Linked DNA regions of Homo sapiens: region 2 is linked to region 1. Evidence: promoter capture Hi-C in 16 types of primary human blood cells and fetal thymus (Javierre and others, 2016). All regions are on one chromosome and are shown on one strand. Each heading gives the region's core, a stretch centred on a gene start or on the middle of the fragment in contact. The rest is flanking DNA. Distances are from core to core; before and after follow the strand shown.

What was found. Contacts are between HindIII fragments. The CHiCAGO score rates a contact against its expected background, and 5 or more counts as called.
Region 2: a contact is called between a fragment that was not itself captured here and the fragment with the promoter of CD27-AS1 in region 1, in 1 of 17 cell types (naive CD4 T cells). The highest score is 5.8, in naive CD4 T cells.

The regions. Positions count from the first base shown.
Region 1 is chr12:6,450,267-6,454,782 of GRCh38, reverse strand. It overlaps CD27-AS1 (CD27 antisense RNA 1), which reads left to right and starts at 3,266. Exons shown (of 6, transcript NR_015382.2): 1 at 3,266-4,442. CD27 (CD27 molecule) reads right to left here. Exons shown (of 6, transcript NM_001242.5): 3 at 4,431-4,516; 4 at 4,153-4,242; 5 at 3,769-3,888; 6 at 3,070-3,515. The coding sequence ends at 3,391. It overlaps TAPBPL (TAP binding protein like), which reads right to left and starts at 2,741. Exons shown (of 7, transcript NM_018009.5): 1 at 2,471-2,741; 2 at 1,486-1,716; 3 at 1,067-1,336. The coding sequence starts at 2,534. RefSeq lists enhancers at 2,442-3,041, 3,472-3,631, 3,722-3,931. The HindIII fragment of the contact is 9,942 bases long and covers 1-4,516 here.
Region 2 is chr12:6,665,069-6,672,584 of GRCh38, reverse strand. It overlaps ZNF384 (zinc finger protein 384), which reads left to right. Exons shown (of 12, transcript NM_001385745.1): 9 at 53-235; 10 at 1,747-1,825; 11 at 3,396-3,554; 12 at 4,470-6,108. The coding sequence ends at 4,871. Among named protein-coding and RNA genes, the nearest start is that of ING4, 5.7 kb to the right of the region's middle. The HindIII fragment of the contact is 755 bases long and covers 4,371-5,125 here.

The DNA.
Region 1 (4,516 bases), core at 2,017-4,516:
TGGAGAGGGCAAGTACTGGGTTTACTAATAAGATCATGAACAAATGATGCATCCCTGAGCTTTACCCCTGAAGCACCAGAGCAGCCTAGCATTTCACTGGGAGAAAACCGGGTTTTGGCTCGATAAGACTACAGTGGACAGCACCCATGTACAGAATAGCATCATGTGTCTTATTTCCTCATGGCAGCCCAGTGAGATGAGAACGATCTCCATTTTGGAAATAACACAGGTTGTCTGTGTGCCTGGGGACGTTCAGGTAGGGGCTGCGAAGCATTCTCTTGTGGACTCAGGGTTTTTGTTGTTGTTGTTGTTTTTGAGACGGTGTCTCACTCAGCTGCCCAGGCTGGAGTGCAGTGGCGCAATCTCGGCTCACTGCAACCACCGTCTCTCAGGTTCAAGTGATTCTCCCGTCTCAGTCTCCTGAGTAGCTGGGATTACAGGCACCTGCCATCATGCCCGGCTAATTTCTGTATTTTAGTAGAGAGGGGGTTTCACCATGTTGGCCAGGCTGGTCTTGAACTCCTGACCTCAGGTGATCCACCTGCCTTGGCCTCCCAAAGTGCTGGGATTACAGGCATGGGCCTTCGCACCTGGCCTGACTCAGGGGTTTTTAGGAAGAAAGGACCAAGGCCTAGGGGTGCCCTGAGGTGACCAGTGTGGATGGAGGTGGATTTGTTCCCTTTCTTCTTCTGTGCCCCATATCTTACCACTTTAGAAAAGCAAAACTTTCTGTGACTTGCTTTTCTTTTCTTTTCTTTTTTTTTTTTGAGATGGAGTTTCGCTCTTGTTGCCCAGGCTGAAGTGCCATGGTGTGATCTCGGCTCACCGCAACCTCTGCCTTCCGGGTTCAAGCGATTCTCCTGCCTCAGCCTCCCTCGTAGCTGGGATTACAGGCACCCGCCACCATGCCCGGCTAATTTTGGTATTAGTAGAGACGGGGTTTCACCGTGTTGACCAGGCTGATCTCAAACTCCTGACCTCAGGTGATCCACCGACCTCGGTATCCCAAAATTCTGGAATTACAGGCGTGAGCCACCACACCTGGCCTTGCTTTTCATTTTCTTACCTGCAGTTCGCACAGTCCCCTGGGGGCTCAGTGGCAAGTTCAGCGTCGGGTGCCAGAGCGCCTCATTCTTGGTGACCCTGGGAGTCTTCATCACCAAGGAGATGCTAGGTCCCCCTCCAGAGACCTGCATGTTGGCCATGAACCAAGCTGCTGTCTTAACAGTGGTCTCTGTCATCTGGAGAAAGTAGCGGGAGATCTCACAGGTCACCTCCTTCCCACTGCAGTCAGCATGGAGCAAGGCCTCGGCCTGGGGAATCTGGACCAGGTCCACTGGGGAGAAGCAGGGCACACACAGAGGGCAAATTAGCGTGAGAACACCAGGGCCAACGGGAGGCAGTATGTGTGGCTGTAATCGGGACCTGGGCTGTCCTGGTGGAGGGAGCCCGGGAGGACCAAGGACACAGGTGGAAGGCTTTTACCTGAGGCCTCAAAGATAATAGGTGGGTCATCTTGGGCCAGTGTGCCCCCTTGGAAATCGGTGAAGTCCTCCAGGGAGCCATCGTCCAGCACTGGCACCTGCTTCAGCACAAGGGAGGCCCTTGCCCTGTCCTCACTGCTGGCGAGAGCTCCACGGTGCGCACCGTCCTTCGCCAGGAAGCAGTCTAGGACCACGTCCACTGCCCGCCACTGCCCCTCTGCTGGGTGGGGCTCTGCAGACAAAGGCTGGGGTGAGCACCGCCTTCCCCAGAAAGCTACTCCACACTTGCTTCCTGCCCCCGCCCTCAAGCTGTGGAGTCATCAAAGGGTAAAAGTTGCCATCCAAGATCCTAGCTGTTTCTGTGTCCCTCTATTCTCCCGTCATCCCCAAACCAGCTTTCTGGAGAGCACCTGCTAGTCCAGGCAAATACTTCTTGGTGAGAGTTAAAGTCCTGGATTTGCCTTGCTCAGAGGAGTTTATGCTTGCATTTCCAACTGTTGAATAAAAGACTATCTTTTCAGTCAAAGGAATTCTCAGAAAACAAGCAAGTGCCACCGCAGAGAGAGGAGACTGGACAGTTACTGTTGCTGGGGCACTGACAGCCTGCACTGCTTTCTCCCATTTCGGGTAGCCTTCCCCTCCCCCGCCTTCAAGGTCACCTTCCAAGTGATTTCCTCACCTGGGGAGTCCTTTCCTCTTCTGAAGTGTCAGCTCCCAGGCCAGTGCCCTCTCTGTAGGACAGTGGCTCCTGACCACAGCCACAGAGGCAGCCCCTCTTTAGCATTTTCCCTGTGGAGTCCCCACCCTCCCTCCACACACACTATTGGTTCCTTCCTTTGCCAGCCGCTGAGCCTTTCCCCTGTTGGGCTTAGAAGGCGATGGGGTCATCCCCGGCCCCTTTGCTCTTCTGGAATCTCGGGGAGGGTGGCACCCTGGGGCTTCAGTAGCTCTTCTCCCAGCCAGCTCTCCCCGACTCCCAGACTCACTGGTTTCTGCTGCTCCAGATAGAGCCAGGCAGAGCAGCAGGCACCAGCCCTCCTGTGTGCCCATGGAGGCTGCTCTCGAGTTCCCTCCTTGCCCACCGCCCTTCTCCACAGTCCTACGCTGCTTGCGAGGCCCGGCGGAAGAAGGGGGCTCTCCAAGCACACCTGGCAGCCTGCAGCCTTTAGGTTTCTTCCCTGTTCCCTCTGCTGCCGACTTTTCTTTCACTTTCACTTAGAGCAAGATGGCAGCCCGCGTCCCTGTGTGAAGCCGTCTGCAGCAGCTGCCAGAGCCCTGCTTGCTGTTTCCTTTCTCACCACCCACCTCACCCGGAAATCCCCTGGTGATTTCAAGACCTGACCTCTGCACCCTTTTGCTCCCCACCTGTCCCAAAAAAGTGGAGCTATAACTGTGGGAAAAGGGGATCTGAAGTCAGACACAGGATCCACAGTAGCCTGGGGACCTTTCTCACCCCCGCCCTTAAGCAGGCCCCAACATAACCGGCTGAGAAACCTCCTCTGCCAGATCCTGACCTGAGCCAGGAGGCGGCCAGGAAACTGGATTTTGGGACTGGGATTTCAGAGAGGAAGCTGGAGAGCTGCAGGGTGGTCATCTGTCACTTTATTTTGCCCGTCTTGTAGCATGTGGGTCTTTCGCAGCAGGAAGTGTGTTTTACAACCAGAGCCCCCGCCCTCCTGCAGCGCAGGCGCAGCTGGCTGGGCTCCTGCTTCCCACTCTCCACCTCATCCATATTTGTCCTCGTCCCTGCCAGTCTCGAAAAGGCACTCTGTCACGTGTACACAGGAAAGGGCCCTGACAAGAGGATGGGACTGCAGTTGTGGCTGCCAGGTCTCACTCTCCCTTGGATGGTCGGCGGGGTGGGGGTGGAGGCCAGGGCTGTAGTGCAGCTCCCGCAGGTGCTGGCTCAGGGGGAGCAGGCAGGCTCCGGTTTTCGGTAATCCTCCTGGATGGGGATGGTGCTGCCCTCCTCCTCCCTGGGGCAGCTGTAATGACAAGGCTCTGCAGGCTCCACAGGACTTTCTCCTTTGTCTGCAGAAGGAGATCCGATGAGTCTTGGCCAGCAGTGGGGGCAGGGGGAGACGGGAGAAGGAGATGGGTAGAGGCGGGTGCGCTTGGGGGAGGGGTGTCAGGAGCACGCCAGCTAAGGGGAGAGAAGGGGTAGGACCAAGGCTGGTGAAGTGGAGCTGGTGGGTTTCAGTGAGATTCCAGGCGTGGGCAGTGGGGTTGAGCCAGTGGGGTGTGGTGCAGGGGCAGGACCGGAGGCCTGTGTTCTGTCTCTTACTTGATCTATATTTCCTTCGTTGATGGAGGAACAGGGCCCCGGCCAGGGTGAAAACAAGGAACATTCCAGAGAAGATCACAAGGATGCGAATAAAATCGGAGCTGCACAGGGATCTTTGGGCTGTAATAGGAGGGGACACACAGGGGTTAGGGGAGGGTCTAGCCCTTGGCTCCCTCAGCCCAGCCCTCCTGTCACCTTGCCTCTCCCCTTTCCCCCACCTTATTCTATCCCACCCGCCACCGTTGGCCAACTCCTCTCCTAAACAGTGGACTCTGCTTTTTCCCCTCCTCTTATCCCTAATCCTAGGAGCTTTCTGTCTGGCTTCCCTCCTGGCCCCTCGTGTATGCATTCTCTCTAGCGGTGGGGATTAAGGAGAAAACTCACGTGGCCAGTGGGTAGAGAGAGTCCGGGCAGGCAGCTGCCTGAAGTCAGCCAGAGTCTGCATGTGCCCAGCTGTCCTGGCCTCCAGCATCTCTGGAAAAACAGAGACAGAATGAGTAGCAGCAGGGGACCCCATAGGGCACATCTGAAGGCCTGAGAGGTGCTGGATGGGATGGGAAGGCAGAAACAGGCTGACCTTATCTAGGGGTAGGAGTGGGGAGTACTGGTTGGGGTATCACCGCTACCCCACGTGATGGCACAGAGAGTTGCCTGGAACTTACCACTGACATAAGGTAAGTGGGTGGGCTGAGGGTGTGGGCTCAGGGCCTGAGACGACCGAGCGGTCAGCGAAGGGTTTGGAAGAGGA
Region 2 (7,516 bases), core at 3,499-5,998, 220 kb before region 1:
CTGGTGTCGAACTGCTTCCTCCTCCCCCCTTCCCTCCTCTCCTCTCCGGCAGGATCCACTCCAAGATGCACACGGAGACCATCAAGCCCCACAAGTGCCCGCACTGCTCCAAGACCTTCGCCAACACCTCCTACCTGGCCCAGCACCTCCGTATCCACTCGGGGGCCAAGCCCTACAACTGTTCCTACTGCCAGAAGGCCTTCCGCCAGCTCTCCCACCTCCAGCAGCACACACGGTAAGGGAGAGTGGCGGGCTACTGACCCCGCCCCGCTGGCATGCCCTCCCCACCCCCGCCCCGGACACACACAACAACCCGCATGCGGGGGGCGGGGGAGAGACCTGGCTGGAGGAGAGACCTGGCTGGCATCTGGGAGAAGGAAGACCAAACAACACTGGAGATTCAAGTGGACACAGAGCTTCTCTGGGGCAAGAGCTACGTCGGGGAGCTGCAGTGACTATATGATATTCACTGATCCATGGGAGACAGACACGTACCTGGAGTAGAAACAACTTTTCTCTAATTTTCCTCCCTGAAAATACTCATGTACCCATCTTGGAAGATTTGCCCCTTGATGCCAAAACAGAGGCATTTGAGTGGAGAAGACCATACCTCTAGCCCTTAGGGCACCAATTATGAACAGGAAATAAAATCAGACATTAGCTGGGCACCAGCCTGGTGACACCCACAGCAACAAGCAAGGCTCTGAGGGATGCCAGGAGTAGAGAACAAAAGAAAACACGTACTAAATGTTCAGAGAGAATCAGCAAACAGAAAATGAAAACGCTTATGCTTCATAAAGATGCCCAGTGTTTATCCCGTGAATCTGGAGTGACTAGGAAGAAGGGAACCTGCCAACTAGAAGTGATGATCTTTGGTGCTATCTCAAGTTGAACTGGAGTCCAGACTTACAGGCCATAGACCGTCTCACCCGGCTTCTTGTGGATGTGATGATCTCACCTTAAAGTGATCAGACATCTTGCTTTGAGAAGAGGAGGAGTCAGGCTTTCCTCACAAATAAGAGACACGTCCTGTGATGTTTTTGAGATTTTATACCAGAGGTCCCGAAAAGCACCTGGTCATAGAGATGGTTCTGAAGTCGCTGATGAGGAGCAGGTGTCACTGCACCCTCAAGTCCTTGGCTCATCTTAGCAGAGGGCCCTGTGGTGTTGGGGAGAGAGGTCACATTGGTACTAAACTAGGCATTTCCTGTCATTAGGGGGCTGGGCTGCAAAAAGCACTTAGTTTTCATGAGTTTCCATTAATATCACTACTACTCTCCACAATCAGTGTAACTGCTTTTCTTTGTTACCATAACATTCTCTGGAAGTGATGCTCAAGGCTGAGGGGACTGTTTCTGGCCATAAGGTGGGGCCAAGGAAGACGCGTTCTGCTTTTCTTTTTCCTTGCCATTGTGTTTATCTTGTGTTCTTGAATGTTCGTTAGGACAGTTACTGTAGGAGCTGACTTGAATGCCAAATTGTGGGCTGCCTGTTCCTTGGGTGCCAAGTCCTCAGTCTCTCCTCCCCCAGCAGAGAGGAGCCTCAGCTTGAGCTGAGTGATGCAGGCATTGACCAGAAGCAAATCATCAGTACCTGATCCACATCAGAGAGGAAGGCTGGTGCCTCTTGGAGGCCCATCTGATGTGCCTCCTTAGGAGAGCAGGATGGGCCTGGAGAAGATTTGTTGAGCCAGTTCCTAAATGGTCTTGCTGACATTCTTTCCCTTTTTTCTCTTATCCTGTGCAGAATCCACACTGGTGATAGACCATACAAATGTGCACACCCAGGCTGTGAGAAAGCCTTCACACAACTCTCCAATCTGCAGGTAAATGTTCCACCCTCCACACAAGACCTTGAGTCTGAGACATGGGGCCATTTGAATAGTATCGTGGTTCTCAAATGTTTTCAGGACTCCTTTACACTCAAACATTATTGAGGGACCCAAAGAGTTTTTGTTTATGTGGGTAATAGCTGTCTACATAGACGTTGTAAAACTGAAAAACCTGAAAAATATTTATAATAGTAATCTGTTTAGAAAGAACAAAAATAAACCCATTGTGTGTTAACATAAATAACATATTCCAAGACCCTCCAAAAACAACTGAGTGAGAAGAATGGCATTATTATACATTTTTGCAGGTGTCTATTTTTTATTTTTGGGACAGGACCTTGCTCTGTCACCCAGGCTGAGTGCAGTGGTGTTATCATGGCCCACTGCAGCCTCAGCCTCCCGGTCTCAAGTGATCCTTCCACCTCAGCCTCCCAAGTAGCTGGGATTCTAGGCATGCACCATCACACCTGGCTGTTTTTTTCATTTTCGTAGAGATGGGGTCTTGCTATCTTCCCTAGGCTGGTCTCGAACTCCTGGACACAGGCCATCCTCCCGCCTCAGCCTCCCCAAAGTGCTAGGATTGCAAGCATGAGTCACCGCACCTGGCACAGGGGTCTTTAATGTCTTAAGCTAGAAGATGAGTAGATTCTCAGATCTGCTGCATCTGGCCTATTGTGTTATCACACATCATGTAACCTCTGTAAGGGTTACATGTAAAACATAAGGCACAATGAAGCCACTTGAAATTTTGAGGGGAACAAGATTTCAGTTAGGTTTTTCATCTTTGTGTTTGTGTGTGTGTGTGTGTGTGCGCGCGCGCGTGTGCGTGTTTGAGACAGAGGCTCGCTGGGTCACCTAGGCTGGAGTGCAGTGGTGTGATTTCAGCTTACTGCAACTTCCCAGGTTCAAGAGAGACAAAGGCAAACATTGTCTTATTATTTTGAAAAGATTTGGCTGGGCGCGGTGGCTCACACCTGTAATCTCAGCACTTTGGGCGGCGGAGGCGGGCGGATCACCTGAGCTCAGGAGTTGGAAACCAGCCTGGCCAACACGGTGAAACCTTGTCTCTACTAAAAATACAAAAAAAATTAGCCAGGCCTGGTGGCATGTGCCTGTAGTCCCAGCTACTTGCAGGCTGAGGCAGGAGAATCGCTTGAACCCGGGAAGCGGAGGTTGCAATGAGCCGAGATTGTGCCGCTGCACTCCAACCTGAGCGACAGAGTGAGAGACTTCATCTGGGAAAAAAAAAAAAAAAGAGTTTTGACCCTGTGGGCCCCCTGTGAAGGTCTTAGTGTTCCCTAAAGATCCCCATGCCTCATTTTAAGAACCACTGGACTGGTGAGACGGGCATAAGCTGTCTTGGGATCCTGGTATGTGCTACATGAGGTATGCTTCCACCCTTAGCCTGTAGCTTCTCAAGTTTCATTTGAAACAATTTCTACTTTCTTCAGATAGAGGGAGAAGCTGGGAGGCCTGACACCTACCTTTTTGCTTTCCATCGAGGTCAAGGGGGCAGGAGGAAAGAGTACAATGTATTCATTCTGGTTTCTCCCAATTTTCTCAGTCCCACAGACGGCAACACAACAAAGATAAACCCTTCAAGTGCCACAACTGTCATCGGGCGTACACGGATGCAGCCTCACTAGAGGTGCACCTGTCTACGCACACAGTGAAGCATGCCAAGGTGTACACCTGCACTATCTGCAGTCGGGCATACACATCAGTGAGTGCTCCGTTTCTTCTCTCCTTCCTCATAGTCCTCTAAGAGTACAGTCCACTTCACCCCATTTTCTGGGTAGAGATCTGTTGCAGTGAATACCCTGCCTCCCTAGCTCCAACTTAGCAGAACAGGTAAATATTCAGAAATTAATTAGACCCATTCTGAGGAATTTAGGGGATGCCTGATCTCCTAATCCTATAGAGACGCATAAGCTGTAATTCTTCATTTTACTTAAACATAAGGCAAAATAAAGCCACTTGAAATTTTGAGGGGAGCTGGATTTCAGTTAGGCATTTTCTTCTTCTTTTTTTTTTTTTTTTCTTTTTGAGACACAGTCTCGCCCTGTCACCCAGGCTGGAGTGCAGTGGTGTGATCTCGGCTCGGCTCACTGTAACCTCCACCTCCTGGGTTCAAGCGATTCTCCTGCCTCAGCCTCCCAAGTAGGTGGGATTACAGGTGCATGTTGCCATGCCCAGCAACTTTTTGTATTTTTAGTAGACATGGGGTTTCACCATGTTGCCCAGGCTGGTCTCAAACTCCTGACCTCAAGTGATCCACCTACCTCAGCCTCCCAAAGTACTGGGATTACAGGTGTGAGCCACCGCACCTGGCCCAGTTAGATATTTTCCATGAGACTCCAGAAAAGGTTGTAAAGTTGTTTCATTCAGGGGTCTTTGAAAAAAATAGCAGCTCATTCCTTTGCCAGTTGAATGTTGAGTGACTTCTAAAGGTTCCTCTCTTTTTTTTCTCAGTAGTGAGCCACTGAAAGTGCTACTTGAGTTTTGCTCAGTCTTGGCTCCAGAAAACCAGTATAAAGCTTACTCTGCTTACAGCAGAATCAGAGCCTGGGGTGCTAGTTACAAGTAATCTCTTTTCCTTCCTCTTTATCCCTCAACTTCTTTTTACCATCTCCCTCAGGAAACATACCTTATGAAACATATGCGCAAACACAACCCGCCTGATCTTCAGCAACAGGTGCAGGCAGCAGCAGCAGCGGCAGCAGTGGCCCAGGCCCAGGCTCAAGCTCAAGCCCAGGCTCAGGCTCAGGCTCAAGCCCAGGCCCAGGCCCAGGCCTCCCAGGCATCACAGCAGCAGCAGCAGCAGCAGCAGCAGCAGCAGCAGCAGCAGCAACAGCCACCACCACACTTCCAGTCTCCTGGGGCAGCCCCCCAGGGTGGGGGTGGTGGGGACAGCAATCCCAACCCTCCACCCCAGTGTTCCTTTGACCTGACCCCGTATAAGACGGCGGAGCATCATAAGGACATCTGCCTCACTGTCACCACCAGCACCATCCAGGTGGAGCACCTGGCCAGCTCTTAGAGATCCGTGCTGCCACCCACTGGGAAGAGGAAGAAGTAGTCCTGGTGTCTTCTTTCTCCAACTCTTGGTGGGAAAAGTCCTTTTCTTCCTTGACAGGCCTTGGCTCCATCTCCTTGGGCCTCTGTCACGGCTTTCCTTCACAGGATACCATCCTTTTTCTGAACTCTTCTTCAAAAGGAACATCAGCCCTCCTGATTGCAAAGGAATACTGAGCTGATGGTGTCATCCAGCAGCCTCCCCTCCCAAGCAAAGCTTCTAAAACTGGGGGTCGGTGCTCAAGGGAAGGATTTGCTATGACCTCATAGAACCTTGTCCAGTGTGGCCACTTACCCTATCCTTACCCTCCTTATCCTCAAAGTTTGGGCTGATGTAAGACTAGAGGCTGGCCCTCCCAGATAACAGAGAAAAGGGAGCCCCAAATGCAACCAGCCTCTTGTTCTATTCTTGCCTGCAAAAGAACAGAGGTTTCTCAAATGCCTCAGTCCCTGAGAGCCATTTCTTCCCCTACATCGTCTCACTTTGCTTCCTATTGACTGCTGGTAGAAGGAGATTTGGGGTAGGGGCTAGACCTCCTTTTATTTGAAGGGGGCAAGGGCTGAGATGTGGTCCCCAAGGGGCCAGAAATTCCCAAGTTGGTCACAGGTGGCTTAGAAGTGTGTGTTATGGTTTTACGGATTTCCTTGAAGCCTCTCTCCTTCTCTGCCTACAAAGACCCTATACTCTCAGTCTCCCCAACCCACCCCCAAGGAGCTGTGGGAGGCTTTGTGTTATCTGTGAAACTCCAAAACAGGGGTGTTGCGGAGAAGGGAGAGTTCAAGGCAAACGCAAGGACTGGACTTAGCTCCCTAGGTGCCACAGTCAGATGCCGGACACGGATTTATATATAAATATATATATATAAATATATTATACTCACTCATCACGGCCATCTTTGTTGTAACCATTTCTGTGTTTATAAATGCATTATCTCTGAGAATTTTCATATTTGATGTTTTGTTTATTTTTGTCCTTTTTTTCCCTCTCTCCACCCCTGTCCTCTAGCCACAGCATTTTTCTTTTTGTCTTTTTTTTTTTTTTTTAAATCATGGCAGATTTCAGAGGAAAGGAAATTAAAAAAAAAATCAGGAAACCAGTTGTTATAAAGTAATTTAAAAATGAAGAAAAAAAGAAAAAAACTTATGTACAAACCAAGGGGTGTTTTTAGAACATTGTATAGAAATAAATTCATGTAAAAGGATCAGAGGCAGTGGAGCTACTGATGTGAGCGAGCATGCGGAAAAGGTATTTGGGGAGATGTCCAAGAACAGTACTGAGGATTTATACCAGAGTGTGTGTGTGATGAACAAGTGCTTGTGTGATGATGCCCCATTTGTGCAATTCTCCAGTCATGGAAGGGTACAGTTTCATGATGTCTCCAGTGAAATCCTGGTTTATGAGGACTTCTACATACACATTCTGTCATGGGGATTGCATTGCCTAAATATGTGAGAGCAAGGCTTTGGTTATGTGTTAACAAAACAGCTAAGCTCCCTATGGAAGAAAAATGGAAGCCTCTTGAAAGGACCTACACTCCTGCCTGAGTCTGTGGAAGAGGGGCTTGCAGTTGGCAATGTGTATACATATGTGTATTTGTTACCTTGTGGAAATCATAACCGGTTAAGGGGTGCAAGATTGATTTATGCAGGAGAGCTGTAGTACTATGGAGTAGAATGTGGTCATGAAACCTGGACTTCAGCCCTTTGCCTACCATCAACCAGTGTTGGCCAGGGTGCTTCTTCAACTGTTAGTGAAGGGATTGGACTAGATAACTCTGAAGATACCTTTTTTGAGAATTAAGTAACTTGCTTTAAGGCTGGGTGCGGTGGCTCACGCCTGTAATCCCAGCATTTTGGGAGGGCGAGGCAGGCAGACTACTTGACGTCAGGAGTTCAAGACCAGCCTGGCCAACATGGTGAAACCCCATCTCTACTAAAAATACAAAAATTGATGGCCGTGCACGGTGGCTCACGCCTGTAATCCCAGCACTTTGGGAGGCCGAGACAGGTGAATCATGAGGTTAGGAGCTCGAGACCAGCCTGGCCAGTATGGTGAAACCCCGTCTCTACTGAAAATACAAAAAATAAGCTAGGCATAGTGGTGGGCGCCTGCAATCCCAGCTACTCAGGAGGCTGAGGCAGGAGAATCTTTTGAACCTAGGAGGCAGAGGTTGCAGTGAGCCAAGATCGTGCCATGGCACTCCAGCCTGGGCGACAGAGTGAGACTCTCTCTCAAAAAAGTAAAATAAAAATACAAAAATTAGCCAGGTGTGGTGGCACGCGCCTGTAGTCCCAGCTGCAGGCTGAGGCAGAAGAATGACTTGAACCTGGGAGGCGGAGGTTGCAGTGAGCCGGGATTGCACCACTGCACTCCAGCCTGGGCCACAGAGCGAGATTCTGTCTGGAAAAAAAAAAAAAAACAAAAAAAAAAAAACCTTGCTTTAAGCACCGAAAAAGTTGTGAAAGTTGTGACCAAGCTCCCACATCCTGAGAACTCTGGGACTGCTGGCCAATAGTACTTGTTATGTAGTTGGGCTGGGATAAATAAAGCCCACTTAATTTAGTGCTAGATATCCTGTGTGGGCACCTAAGATGGTGTCTCAATATGTT